Regions from separate parts of the Homo sapiens genome. Here region 2 is linked to region 1. The links are contacts of gene promoters, found by promoter capture Hi-C in blood cells and fetal thymus (Javierre and others, 2016). All regions are on one chromosome and are shown on one strand. The core of a region is centred on a gene start or on the middle of the fragment in contact, and the rest is flanking DNA. Distances in the headings are between cores, read along the strand shown.

The links. Contacts are between HindIII fragments. The CHiCAGO score rates a contact against its expected background, and 5 or more counts as called.
Region 2: a fragment that was not itself captured here is called in contact with the fragment with the promoter of GARIN4 in region 1 in 1 of 17 cell types (M2 macrophages); the score reaches 6.2 in M2 macrophages.

What each region holds. Positions count from the first base shown.
Region 1 is chr1:212,618,437-212,625,956 of GRCh38, reverse strand. GARIN4 (golgi associated RAB2 interactor family member 4) reads right to left here and starts at 1,483. Exons shown (of 1, transcript NM_153606.4): 1 at 1-1,483. The coding sequence starts at 1,079. ATF3 (activating transcription factor 3) reads right to left here. Exons shown (of 4, transcript NM_001674.4): 4 at 5,182-6,599. The coding sequence ends at 6,402. RefSeq lists an enhancer at 1-52 and a silencer at 4,036-4,330. The HindIII fragment of the contact is 9,349 bases long and covers 1-2,126 here.
Region 2 is chr1:212,059,443-212,066,962 of GRCh38, reverse strand. DTL (denticleless E3 ubiquitin protein ligase adapter) reads right to left here. Exons shown (of 15, transcript NM_016448.4): 6 at 4,014-4,079; 7 at 1,934-2,046; 8 at 78-151. Among named protein-coding and RNA genes, the nearest start is that of MIR3122, 14 kb to the left of the region's middle. The HindIII fragment of the contact is 6,737 bases long and covers 1-6,035 here.

The sequences.
Region 1 (7,520 bases), core at 234-2,733:
ATGGATGCGCTGGAAACATGCTCTGAGGACTTGCCTGCAGCCCCTGCCACAGCCACCTTCGTGCTGTTTGGAGCCATGCTGGCAGTGCCTGCAAGGGCCATGTTGCCTTTGTTTCCTCCTGCACCGATGGTGGCCGCCCCAGCTATGGCTGCGCTCACCTGTCCAGGGGCAGAATTGGCTGCTGCCACACTCAAGGCACCTGCTACGGTGCCTGTTGCTGCCCCTGCAGCTGCCCCTGCTGCTGCTGCCTCTTTAATCCCCCCTGTTGCTGGCTCCTCAGCAAGTTCTGTAGATGTTTTGGGGATGGATGCATTGAGCACATTAGTGGGTTTGTTAAAGTCATTTTGGAGTCCCTCCCCTCCAGCATAAGCAGCAGAGGTGGCCCCACACACCTCAGAGACCATGTGGAGGCTTTGGATGCTGACCTGGTCCTGATCCCCCTTTCCTTGAAGGTTCACGGCTCCCAGGCTCCTCCTGTCTTCCTGAAACACAGGCATCCACATCATGTCTTCAGCTGGAATGCCACAGGTACTGCTGTTACTCTCCATGGGTGGCCGCAAGAGGTAAATTAGTTTTTCCCAATAGGCAAAGAGGTCATCCCGTGTGTCAAGAGCGGGACACAATTGCAGATAGCAAGATCTGCCAGTGGCGAACTTCAGGCGCAGCTGTTGTTTCTCATGGTCTTGAACAGAGATCCGTACAAACCTCAGGGGCAGAAGCCTGGTGAGCTCTAAGTTCTTTGCTGCCTTGCGTTTTTTTCTCTTGGTGGCCTGGCCATGTCCAGCATACTCTTCGCAGCCGGTGGCCGGTCGTGCCAGTAGCATGACATCTGGGAGTGGGAGGATGGGGCTGGTACGTGCAATGCCCATGGTCACCATACGGACACGGTTGTGCACATCAATCACTTCTCCCCTTTTGGTGATCTGGATAAAGTCGCTCTCAAATATCGGTGCATACTTGAATATATCGTACTCCCCCTTGTACAGTTGTCGCTGCAGTTTCCCCATGGTGGTGTTGAACATGCTCATGCTGGAGCCACTCTGGGCCGTATAATACGGCAGCAGAAAATCAGCATTCATGGTTGTCTTTCAGCACAACGGCAGCACTGGTGAGGCAGGTCTCTGGGTCTTCCTTGGCCTCGGTGGCAGATGAGGGACCAGTGGTGCTCCTGGGTCACAAAGATGTCTCTGCAGCTGGTCTCTCAATCCCACCCCACCCCACAGGCCCCCACTGTTGCCTCAGAGCCTCCCAGAGGCCGGGGTGGGGGTGGGAGCACGGATGATTGCTGTGGGGGGTGCTGTAGGGTGCCTGGACTCCAGACTCTTCCAAGACGTAGAGATGCAGGGTGGGCTCCAGAGAGGTTTTCTTCTGGACCTAACCCCCTGACCTCCACCTCTGATTTTTTTAATTACAGTTTGTAGTCTCTCTCCCTGAGAGAGACTACAAACTGTAGTCCTAGTGACAGGAAGTGACGACCCTCTCTGCCTAAACCCCCTGTGCAGCCATATTTATCTTCTGCTTCCCTTTGTGACCTGTTGCTGTCACATACCCCTTTGTTCTCATCCCCCAGGCCAGGGCCACAATGCCCTCACTAATACTCCATTGCCCCCATAGAGGACAGCCCCACCGTGCCAGGTACTCAAGTGGGTGCCAAAATAAAAATTTTTCAAATGAGAAAATGTGTGGTTGCTTCCCCTTCCTCACCCCAAATTCAAAAGATTCAGCAACTAGGCAGAGTCTACAGGAACGCAAGATGATGGGATAAATTTGAACCATTTGAGTACACGGTTTAAATTTTTTTTTAACCTAGAATTCGCAGTCTTGGTTCTTAGCCCACTCTTCCATAAAATCTCAGTTCATGCTGACAATGGAAATCTTTAGTAATAACCTCAACCTTTAATAATAACATGAGAGATTGCTTCTTCTAGGCGCCATACTATGTATCAAACTCCATTCCAGTTTGATACTATTGCAACGCTTCTCATCTTACAGGTAAAAAAAACCTGAAGTTGTGAAACATACCTGCATTTGTAGAACTCGTAGGCAGTGGAGGTATTATTTGAATACAGGTCTTGCTGCTTTTAAAATCTTCCTTCTGAACCACTACAGAACTTACAAAAAAAGCTTGGGCAAGCCAAATAAGTTGCATAATTAATTCTGTGTGTGTGTGTGTGTGTGTGTGTGTGTATGCATGCATGTTATGGAGAATCCAGGACAACCACTTCAGAAAGGGGCTGGGCTGAGTGGGGGATTAAATTATCCAAGGGGCCACCTCTATTTCTCCTCCATCATGTTTATACCAACATCCTGTGTCAGGGAGCCCAAATATTTTCTCAAGGCCCCCAGTGTTTGCCCCGTGCCTCTTCTTACCCCCTACCCTGTGAAATGCCGGGAGAAGAGGGTAGGATGGAAAGTGTGAGCTTACATTCCAGGAGCCTATCAAAGGCCCTCCTCTACTAACCTCTCTACTATGCAGAAGTACTTTGGAAGCCATTTACATCCATGGGGAACAGGTGCTACTATACCTCCTGCCTTGCCATGCCCACAGAGCGAGCCCAGGAATAAGTAATTTCCAAGCTGTTACCTGGAAGTCCTGAAAAGGAGCACCTGCTTCCAACTCTCTTTTCTCCCAGCTTGACATCAGGCCTGAAATCCTACCTTAGAGATTCAGTTCTTGAAGATAAAGGCTAGCTGTTTCTTAACATACACACACCTGTCTATCAACTGATGAATGGATAAACAAAAAGTATAGTATCCATACAACAGAATACTATTCAGCCATAAAGAGAAATAAGGTACTATTACATAATACGCTAGGCTGACACTTGAAAACATTATGCTAAGTGAAAGAAGCCAGCCGTATTGTGCGAAAGGCCACATATTGTATGATGCTATTTACATAAAATATCCAGCGCAGGCAAGTCCATAGAAACAGAAGACAGATTAGTGGTTGCCAGAGACTGGAAGGAAGGGGAATGAAGAGTGACTCCTTAATGGGTACAGGATTTCCTTTGGGGACAGTGAAAAAGTTCTGGAACTAGATAGTAATGGTTACACTGCATTGTGAATGTACTTAATGGCACTGAATTGTACACTTCAAAATAGTTACAATGGCAAATTTTTTGTATATCTTACCACGCACACACACACAAATGTATATACTCTTGTTTGAAATCATTGCTGTTGAAAACAAGCATAGGCTTCAGCTTTGGAAAGATCCACTGTGAGACCTCGAGCAAGTTACTGAGCTCTCCACTCCCTCATCTGTAAAATGGGGGTAGCAGTTGTTGTGAGGATTAAATGGGATAATACATGTGAAGTGTTTAGTGTATTGTCCTACGCAATAAATGTTAGCTTCTGTTAGCATTAGTCCTCAACAGTCCTTTTAACCTCAGTGTAAATTCCTCCCTGAAAGCAGTGTTTGATGAGACTGTGTTAAAATCTTCTGGAGTTAGAGCCACCATGAGAACACAGGATGCTCAGTGGGCAAATGGGACCTCCTTTCAGGCAGATTCTAATTGGAAACGCTGTTCACGCCACAAAGAAACAGTACATGAACCCAACCAGAGGTTACGGGACAGGGAAGAGAGGAGAAAGCTTGATATGGGTTGGAGTGTTGAGGGTTTATTCAAAGCCCATGGGGAGAAATTAGGATACAGATGGAAAATAGTATTTTAGTTAACAGAAAGTGGAAAGATTCCATTCCAGAACTCCTGTCCTGGGCCAGAACCCTTTAAAAGCTCTTGACTCTGAAACAGGTGTCAGGCCAGCTCTCAGGGAAAGCCAAAGGGGCAGGTGGAAGGCAAGAGAGAGGAGGGAGGGTGGCTTTCCACACCCTGGCAGTGTGACATCACCACTACCAACAGGAGACAGCTCAGTGCAGACACTGCCAAACCGGGTGCTTGATATTGGTGGTGGCCCCATCTAAGTTTATTCTCTCAGATCCCCCCACCTTCCCTTTCCTCTAAATGTGAAACAAAAGAAACTAAATGCCTTGATGGTAAATGCATAGTCATCATCCTTTTTAAAATTAAAGTATCAAAACATAAACTTGGCTACATAAAACAATTTTTAATGCATTTGTGATAGACCTTCATTTACACTTACCATACACATCAAGTTTTCTTGCCATAGCCACCATCCGCCCCCAACTTCCTTCCTCTCTAATCCATTGTTGTTCCTGGCAGCTTACAAATTGTCTTGCGTTTCATAATGGCTGGTGGCTGGTGCCTCTACCCATAACTAGAAGGTAAATGCAAGGGATGTTTTCCCCTCCACCAAGAAAAGGAACATAAATTATCCCCTGAAAGAAGTGCTGAATGGTATTAACATCAGATGGCTCTTGATGGATTAGGAAAGACCCCTGATGTGCAATTCAGAGAGTAAAATGAAGACACCTGTGTCTTAAGTGATCATTTAAAGGAAACATACATGAGGTCAAAGAAGTAGGCACAGAATTCATGTGTACGAATCTGACATTTAACGAAGACATTCTTCTCTGAAGAATGGCACCAGCGGCGAGTGGCCAGTTTTTATGTCTAGCCTGTGAATGTTATAGAGAAGCACAAAAAGCAAGGGGGCCTGGCTCTCTTGCAGGCCAAAGGAATCATACGCCCTGGAAATTCCAGGAAATTCAGTGGAATGTCTTTCTTTGAATTATCACACCCATGCTGTCTAAAATGGTTCTTTCTTCCTCCGGTACCCCTTCCCATTCTTTTCTGATATGTATTTGCAACAATGAGACACACGTTTAGACATGAAACAGATGTAACTCAAGTGAGTAACTCTCTGAGACGAGTTCTGTGGCAGAATGTTAGGGGTCAAAGGTTCAAGCTGAACAACAGGTGTATGTTTTAGGTGTTTGTACATTCAGAGAAAATAATTAAGGTATCTAGCAATTCAGTTGTACATCAAAATTCTAAACACCAAACTGTTGATCTAAAGGATATATTTGGTGCCATGTTTCAGGGTTTGTCAATGAAAAATTGAGCATCAGGTGCCCAAGACTGAGGAACAGGACTGAAAGCCAACTATCCCATCTAGTGATGCCCCAAAGAGCAAAGGATGACATCTGGAGAAGTTTAAAGCTAGGCACCCCCCATAATGGGGAGGGAAAGGCAGGGAATCGCTAGGTCTCAGCAACCGACAGATTTAAATGAACAGAAACCAGCACAACACATGTTTACCATGTCTTGGTTCCAATATTTATTATTCTGACAGGTTAGGAATACTAGGATAAATAAGTAATATTTTCTCTTACAGAAAATTGTAATGATACCATTGAGTACAATTAAACACTCTGAGAATTTCACAGAAACATCAGAATTTTAATAGACAGTAGCCAGCGTCCTTGTGGCCAGTGTGAGTGACTTCTCACAGCTGCAAACACCCTGGGCCAGATTTCTTAAAACAGCTACATGACAAAAACAATGCTATTGACATCCAATAATGCTAAAGCCTGGGTACCACCCAGGCTCCACTGACTGTGGTTTCCAAACATCTCTCCACTGACTGTGGTTTTCAACCACAAGGAAAGGAAAATGGAATATTCTTTGGCTCTTCCAGCCTAGACACAACTCCTGACCTAAGACATTGAGTGGAGAGTCCTAACCCTTTGGAAGTTGAACTTTCTGCTTTCTTCCTGTGACTTTGGAACTGAGTTTGCAACAGAGGACCTGCCATCATACTGCCCATGGATTTTGTGTTAACGCTGGGAGAATTCTGTCCTCCTCTTGCTGACAAGCTCTTCTGGCCACCTGAATATCTTGAGATACTGCACGTGGTGACAGCCCCGCCCCCCAAAACTCTTAGAAACCAGATCTGAGAAAAAGCATATAAAAGTCACATCAGTGTTGTGTGACACAAACATCGGAAGAGTACATTGCCTAGTTTTCTTGCACACACAATTTCTGGACATAACAGCATATTTGCTAGAAAGCACAACCCTGGCCGTTGCACAACTTCACTAAATGCTGTTCTCACTCCACATCCCCTACGAGTGACAATGGTAGCCACGGTGAAGGAGATGGCCCCATCCCTCCCACCCGAGGTACAGACACTGCTGCCTGAATCCTAACGGTGGGCATCCTGGTTTTTTGTAGAATCCAGATGAAAGGCGGGCAGGACACCAGCTGGGGGCCATCTGGAACATAAGAATGGCCAGTGTGTTAAGGCCTAAATCCTGGAGTTGAGGCAAAGATGCACTTGCCCTGGTCCAAGACCCACTCTGGGGCAGAATGGGAAGGGCCTGCTGAATCACTGCAGGCCCTCCCGCCTTGATGGTTCTCTGCTGCTGGGATTCTAGAGGTACACAGGAAGACAGCTCTCCAATGGCTTCAGGGTTTTGGGTATAAAATGAGGATTCAATGAGGACTCCCCAGTCGCCCCCATACCACGACTGCTTAGCTCTGCAATGTTCCTTCTTTTATCTGTTGGATAAAGAGGTTTCTCTCATCTTCTGGAGTCCTCCCATTCTGAGCCCGGACAATACACGTGGGCCGATGAAGGTTGAGCATGTATATCAAATGCTGCTTCTCGTTCTTGAGCTCCTCAATCTGAGCCTTCAGTTCAGCATTCACACTTTCCAGCTTCTCCGACTCCTGGGGGACAAGCAACAGAGGCATCAAGAAAGGAGCCAAGGGCCAGTGAGGAGGGGGTGGCCTGGGCTGCTGCCTGGATGCAGGGGTGTACCTGGGACACACCGGGGCTCATCAAGCTGCGAGAGGAAGATGGGAGATGGGAGAGCAGCACTGGGTTTAGGAAAATGCAGACCCTCTTCTTCAGAGAAACCCTGGTGATGCCACAGAGGCGGCCTGTGGCTCTGCTAATACTGAAGCTGCAGTTCAGATACCTCATTTGCATGAGTCAACAGCCCATATGCAGGTCTTCTGGACCCAAAAGGGCCTTGGGAGCTGGGGAGAAATCCAGACTTATGGTGGCTTAGTCGATTCTGAGTCACAGATCTCAATGAGAAGCTCATCTCCCCAGAAAAAATGTATATAGCAACACACAAAATTCCCTAATTTTCACTGATCCCCTGAAGCAATCAACAGAACTTTTGGGGATCTGTGGGACTTGGGCTAAGACTCTGTCATGGCCTGTCCACATTTGGAGGAGGGACACAGCCACTGGAAAGACTGCTGAGCACCACCGGCCACCCTGCTTGCCCACAAAAGCTATTTCCCCTAGTGTCTCTCAGGCGGGCCGGCTGAACGCAGCCAGGGGCTCAGCTTACTGGCTAAGCCAGGGAGAAGGGCTCTAGAGTTAGGAACCAGACAAGAATGCAAAGCAAGTGTAACCACTGCTTGTGGATTAAGGAAATAACTTGTTTGAAGAGATTAATTAAAGGCTTTTCATAGTGAGCCAAATGAGAGCTGGCAGCTTCCTTTTCTCAGGAAAACAGTCAAGTGAAGCCTCTTTAACTGGGCTGGCATGTCCTGCAGCCTGGAAGCTGATGGACATGTATGAACCGGCCGAGGCTGCTGGGAGTCAGGCATCAGACGAATTCACACACCTGTTTT
Region 2 (7,520 bases), core at 1,418-3,917, 560 kb after region 1:
TAATGAGACTATGTGACTGCCTCATCACAATCTCATAAAAAAGATCTCGTCGGAAGAAAAAAGAAATAGACTCTTACCCATCCACAGCTCCTGCTGAGACTAAGGTATTCTCGTCTTGAAAGAGGACCACAGTAACACTTTGCTGGAAATCCTGATAGCACAAGAAAAGAAGAAGATTCTATCTTGGGCATCATAATCTTTACCATCAAGGGAACAAGGTGCTAAAAAACGACTTTTCTCCCCAGACTGACTTAGATGAAGTCTTGTCTAATGATCTCGATCAGATATATATGCTGACCAAGAGGTAATTTTAGCAAGGATCATTAAGTTTTAGTATACAGTGTTAATATTTCAACTTATACTCAAAAAACAAACTGGTGACTAAAAGATTTTGCTCGTCTGAGCCTACTGCATCTACTTAGACTCAGCCCTACTAATATGCTGTGTGTATCCTTAGGAAACTTATTTAACTTTCTTGTGCCAGTTTAATCTCTAAAATGTTGCTGTCTACCTAGATTATCATATAGGAGTATCAAAAGAATTATGAATAAAAGATTATTTCATGCCCTGAAAAAGAGGCCCAGTGGAGTCGTACCTCCTAATTGCTATTACTTAACAAGTTATCTTGGCTCAGAACCAGATTAAATGTCTGAAATGCTACTCGTTTTAACTTCATATGGCCTCTACTATCTGCTTCCATTCATGCTTGTGTCCTGTTCACGGTGTATAGTTTTAAGTCTTAATGTCTTAGCAGTCATACTTCCCCCAAAATATTAACTTGTACCCTACACACCAGGAATATGAAAAAAAAATTACATTAAAGTGAGAAAAAGGGCAATTTTTTAAAGAAAAAGGATATATTATGGGCATTGTTTGAGCTCTGACTGTAAGTTATTAGAGTGGTACTATGTTCTACCCATGTGTTTCTCAATATATTTAACAATATTTTGTCAAATGCTTAAAAATAAGCTGGCCAGGCGTGGTGGCTCACATCGGTAATCCCAGCACTTTGGGAGGCTCACGAGGTCAGGAGATTGAGGCTATCCTGGCTAACACGGTGAAACCCCGTCTCTACTAAAAAAACAAAAAATTAGCTGGGCGTGGTGGTGGGCACCTGTAGTCCCAGCTACTTGGGAGGCTGAGGCAGGAGAATGGTGTGAACCTGGGAGGCGGTGCTTGCAGTGAGCCAAGATTGCGCCACTGCACTCCAGCCTGGGTGACAGAGCGAGACTCTGTCTCAAAACAAAAAACATATTTTTCTGTAGTTTGTATTACGAAAACAACAGGTATTCTTTCCCCTTAGAAAACTGCATCACAGTACTTAATATGCTTCTTCAAACTACTCCTCCCCCACTTTTCCTAATGAATTCCACTATACTATAGGGGTGTGTTTGTGTGTGTGTGTTTGTGTCTGTGTGTGTAGAGAGATTTTTAGGGATGAGTAAGGTGAATTTTCAACATGTGCCTCAGGCAACTCTGATGCACACAGTATTTGAAGTGATGGCTATCTCAATTACCCTGATTTGATCATTATACATAGTGTACCCCCCAAAATATGTAAAATTATGTTATCAATTTTTTAAAATGTAGATATTGAAATTGTAAAAAAAAAAACCACTTTCTGCTTAATGGCATGAGACAACATCTTATGTTTAATTCAATCTAATTCTTTAAAACCAAAATAAATTTAAAGATATTTATCAACGAGGCTACATATATTTTAATTCCATCAATAATATAGGTAAATGGCATTATAATTCAGAAGAACCAAAAATTAAAATTTGAGAACCACAAATGTAGGTACTGAATAAGCAATAAACCACTGATATCAAATGAGAATCATGAAGATTCTCATTCACTTAATCAATAGCCTCCCATTTATTCTATCCTACAGATAAGATCTGCACACATGTATACATCTGTAAAACCTTACCACAGAAGGAGCAAGTCCTTTTGAATTCTGTTTCTTCTTGGGTTTTGAAGGGGTTTGCTTGTCTGAGGTATTGTGAGCTCCACTGATTTGATTCACTTGCCTATAAAACCCATCTGAAAGATATTCCAAGGAAATTTAGGTTTCAGGATTCTTACATGCTGAATATAACATGTGTAAATAAAACTTCAATATTAAGTAATTTTTGACCAAGTTGGTGAAATTAGAAGCCAGCAGAGCCAGCTGCACTACATCTCCTGTGGTGAGACTATAATGTATAAAAAGGGAGAGATGTTTATAACAGCTTTAATAATTGCCAAAACTTGGAAACAACCAAGATGTCCTTCAGTAGGTGAATGGATAAACTTTGGTTCATCCAGACAATGGAATATTATTCAGCACTGGAAAGAAATGAGCTTGATAAAGCCATAAAATGACATGGAGGAAATGTGACTGGGGGAAGTAATAAGATCAGTGGTTGCCAGGGCTTAGAGGGAGGTAGGGATGAATAACTGGAGCACAGAGGATTTCTAGAGTAGTGAAACTATTGTGTATGATGCTACAATGGTGGACGCACGTCATTACACATTTGTCAATATCCACAGAATGTGTAATACTAAGAATATATAACACTGATGTAAATTATAAACTCTGAGTGACAGCATGTGTTGACATAGGTTAACTGATTATAACAAATGTACCACTCAGGCACAGGATGTTGTCAGTGGGGAAGTCTGTGTGTGGGCAGGGCAGGGGCTATATGGGAACTCTCTGTACTTTCTGCTCAGTTTTGCTGTGAACCTAAAACTGCTCTACAAAATAAGGTTTATTAAAATTTTTCTAAATAATTTTATTATTTATTTCAAAATAGCTAGAAGAATGGGAGGCTGAGGCAGGCAGATTGCCTGAGGTCAGGAGTTCCAGATCAGCCTGGCCAACATGGTGAAATCCTGTCTGTACTAAAAATACATAACTAGCTGGGAGTGGTGGCATGCACCTGTAATCCCAGCTACTTGAGAGGCTGAGGTAGGAGAATTACTTGAACCCAGGAGGCGGAGGTTGCAGCGAGATGAGATCACGCCACTGCACTCCAGCCTGGGTGACAGAGTGAGACTCCGTCTCCAAAAAAAAAAAAAACAAGAAACAAAAAACCAGAAGAGAAGAATTGTAATGTTCCCAACACAAAGAAAAGATAAATGTTTGAGGTGATGGATATCCCAATTATCCTGATTTGATCATTTCATGTTCTATATATGTATCAAGATATCACATATACCCCTGAAAATATGTAGAACTATGTTACCAATTTTTTAAAATGCAGACACAAAAAAAAATTTTAATAAATTAACTAAAAGTGAACAGTGAGATAATCATCGTCTGCTTAATAGCATCATGAGACAACCATGAGCTTATGTTTAATTCAATCTAATTCTTTAAAATCAGGCTGGGCCTGGTGACTCACGCCTGTAATTTCAGCACTTTGGGAGGCCAGGGTGGGCAGATCACTTGAGGTCAGGAGTTTGAGACCAGCCTGGCCAACATAGTGAAACCCCATTTCTATTAAAAAAATACAAAAATTAGCCAGGCATGGTGGCGGGTGGCTGTAATCCCAGCTACTCAGGAGGCTGAGCTAGAGGAATTGCTGGAACCCAGCGGGTGGGGAGTGCAGTGAGCCAAGTTCACGCCACTGCACTCCAGCCTGGGTGACAGAGACTCCATCTCAAAAAAAAAAAAAATAATAATAATAAAATAAAAAAAATTCTTAAAAACCAAAATAAAGACATTTACCAGTGAGGCTGCGTATTAATATTTTTAAGTCCATCAATAATGTGGGTAAATGGCATTATAATTCAGAAGACAATATGAGATAAATACATGAGTGTAATACTTGTAACAGTGACACTCATGTATTTATCACTCAGGACACTCAGTGAAGATCCTGAGATCTGGAACAGTGAGCAGAAATGGGAAATTATGAGTACATGCCCCCTGGTGGTAATCAGATGAAATCACTAACTCTTTCACTCAAAATTAAGTACAGGGTAATCCCAAATCTCTCAAAATTAAAATAGATCTAGATAACCTTTTTTGTTGCACCTGGTATCCCAGACCATAATGTTGCCATCTCTTCCACCCGTACAGAATACAGCTGTGGGGAAATAAACAGATTATTAAGAGGTTAACAAAACCAGTCAATGACACATATATTTCAGTTTACATTTTGTAGACTATCTATTATGTGCTAGGTACTGTATCTGTCACTGGAGATCAAACATTTAAAAATATATGGCTCAATAACAAATAGGAAAAAGGATTATGAAGAGCTTGAGATGCTAATGTTGAACCAAAACTTCATAGAATCACCCCTCTGTAAATTTTTTAAAACCCATATAAAATATATAGTACAGTTGTAATAAGAATAACAATCAAGAGTCAAAATACAGAGTGCTTCTTATTCTAAATGTTAGCTACTATCCCGCGTGTTTTATAAAAATTATCTCAATCCTTGCTATCAACCTTATTAGGTAAGTACCAAGAGAGGCACAGAGAGGATAAGTAACTTGTAAAGGTATTCCTGGCAGTATGAATCCAGAGCTTACACTCCAAACCTCTAAACTGTATTGGCTCAGTATAAAAATATGGACCAGATCCATATGAAGTTTGTTAAAGAGGTTGCCTGGGATGCAATGGGATTGGAAAAGGCACTATAGGAGAACTTCAATTTATCTGTAATGTTTTATTCTTTAAAATTAAGCCAGAAAAAAACCCTGCTTCCTGTGTGAAAGAGTGAGCACTTAAACTAATCCACTTGCATTAGTTGTACATGGGATAAAACACAAAAACAGCTACCTGAGGGCTCTGTGGAAACTGAATGAAAACATGCAATTTTTCTTACTGATACATAGTATTTTACATATTTATGGGGTATATGTGATATTTTGATGCCTGCATAGAATGTGTTATGATCAAGTCAGGGTATCTGGGGTATCCATCACCTTGTATTCATCATTTCTATGTGCTGGGAACATTTTAAGTTCTCTCTTCTAGCTGCTTGAAATATACAATAATTTGTAAGGTGACAATAGTCAGGTATCGAACAATGGAACTTACACCTTCTATCTAACTTTATGCTTGTATCCATCAAGCAACCTTTCTTCATTCCCCCCTCACACCCACTCACTTTCCAGCCTCTGGTTATTTATCATTCTACTCTCTACCTCCATGATACTGTTTTAGCACCCACATATAAATGGGAACATGTGAAATTTATCTTTTGTGCCTGGCTTGTTTAACATAATGTTGATGTGAATGACATTTCCTTATGGCCAAATAGTATTCAATTGTGTATATACTACATTTTTAAAAACTCTATTTGTTCGTTAATAGACAGGTTGATTCCATATCTTGGCTATTGTGAATAGTGCTGCAACAATGTGACTGCAGTTATTCCTTTGATATACTGTTTGTCTTTGAATCAATACCCAATAATGAGACTGCTAGATCAATGGTAATTCTATTTGTTTTTTTTTTTTTGAGAAATCTTACTGTTTTCCATAGTGACTGGACTAATTTACATTTCCACCAACAGTGTACAAGAGTTCTCTTTTCTCCACATCCTTGCCAGCATGTTTTGTTTAATAATAGCCATTCTAACTGGGTTAAGATGATATCTCACTGTGGTTATTAGTCATGTTGAGCAGTTTTTCACATACCTGTTGGCCATTTGTATGTCTTCTTTCGCGAAATGTCTATTCATGGTCTTTGCCTACTTTTTTTTTTTTTTTGAGACAGGATCTCACTCTATCACTCAGGCTGGAGTACAGCGATGTAATCACCGCTCAGGGCTCAGTGATCCTCTCATCTCAGCCCCACCAAGTAGCTGGGACTACAGTAGTACACCACCATGCCCAGTTAATTTTTTTGTATTTCTTTGTAGAGACAGTTTTGGCACATTGCCCAGTCTGTGTTTGCCTACTTTTTAATATTTTGTCTTTTCTACTGTTGAGTTGTTCGAGTTCCTTGTATACATTCTACATATTATTCCCTTATCAGATAAATAGTTTGCAAATACTTCCCATTCAAAAAGTTTTGGCATGCAGAAGCTTTTTAGTTTAGTATAGTCTAGTTTATCTATTTGTTCTTGTTGTCTGTGCTTTTGAGTTCTTGGCCAGCCATAAAATCTTTGCCTAAACCAATATCCTGAAGTGTTTTCCCTATGTTTTCTTCTAGTAGTTCTATTGTTTCAGGTCTTACATTTAAGTCTTTATACTCCATCTTGATTTTTTTTTTTTTTTTTTGAGACTGAGTCTCACTGTGTCAACCAGGGTGGAGTGCAGTGGTGCTATCTTGGCTCATTGCAATTTCTGCCTCCTGTGCTCAAGCGATTCTCATGCCTCAGCCTTCCAAGCAGCTGGGACTACAGGCGCGCCTACCACGTCAAGCTAATTTTTTGTATTTTAGTAGAGGTGGGGTTTTGCCATGTTGCCCAGGCTGGTCTTGAACTCCTGAGCTCAGGCAATCCACCTGCCTTGGCCTCCCAAAGTGCTAGGATTACAGGCATGAGCCCCATGTCTGGCCTATCTTGATTTTCTTTAATATAGTGAGATAGAGGTACAGTTTCATTCTTCTGCATGTGGATACCCAGTTTTCCCAGCACCGTTTATTGTAGGTTCTTGGCACCTTTATTGAAAATCAATTGGCTGTAAATATATGGATTTATTTCTGAATTCTCTATTCTGTTCCATTGGTCTCTGTGTCTGTTTTTATGCCATGCTGTTTTAGTTATTATATTAGCTATATTCTTTTTGCTTAGGATTGCTTTGGCATTTGGGTTCTTTTTGGCTCCACATAAATTTTAAGATTGTTCTTTCTACTTCTGTGAAAAATGATGTTGGTATTTTGATGGGGATTGCACTGAATCTGTAGATTGCTTGGGGTAGTATGGCCATTTTAAAAATAATAATTTTTTCCCATCCATGAGCATGAGGTCTCTTTCCATTTGTCTCCTCTTCAATTTCTTTGATCGGTTTCATACTTTTCCTTATAGAGGTCTTTCACCTCTTTGGCTAAATTTATTCCTAAGTGTTTTATTTTTTTGTAGCTATTGTAAATGGGATTGCCTTCCTGATTTCTCTCTCAGCTAATTCATTATTGATGTATAGAAATGCTATTTTTTTTGTATGTTGATTTTGTATTCTGCAACTTTTAATGAATTTATCAGATCTGAGGTTTTTTTTTTTTTTTTTTTTTTTTGTAGAGTCTTTAAGTTTTTCTAGATATAAGATCATAACATCAGCCAAGGAAAATACAACTTCTTTTCCAGTTTGGATACTTTTTACTTCTTTCTCTGGCCTGATTGCTCTGGGTAGAACTTCCAGTACCATGTTGAATAGGAGTGGTGAAAAGCGTGCGTCCTTGTCTTGTTCCAGTTCTCAAGGGAAAGGCTTCCAGCTTTTTTCGATTCAGTGTGGTGTTAACTGTGAGTCTGTCATATACAGCCTTTTTATGTTGAGATATGTTCCTTCCATGCCTAGTTGGTTGAGTTTTTTAATTCGGAGGAGATGCTGAATTTTATCGAATTATTTTTCTC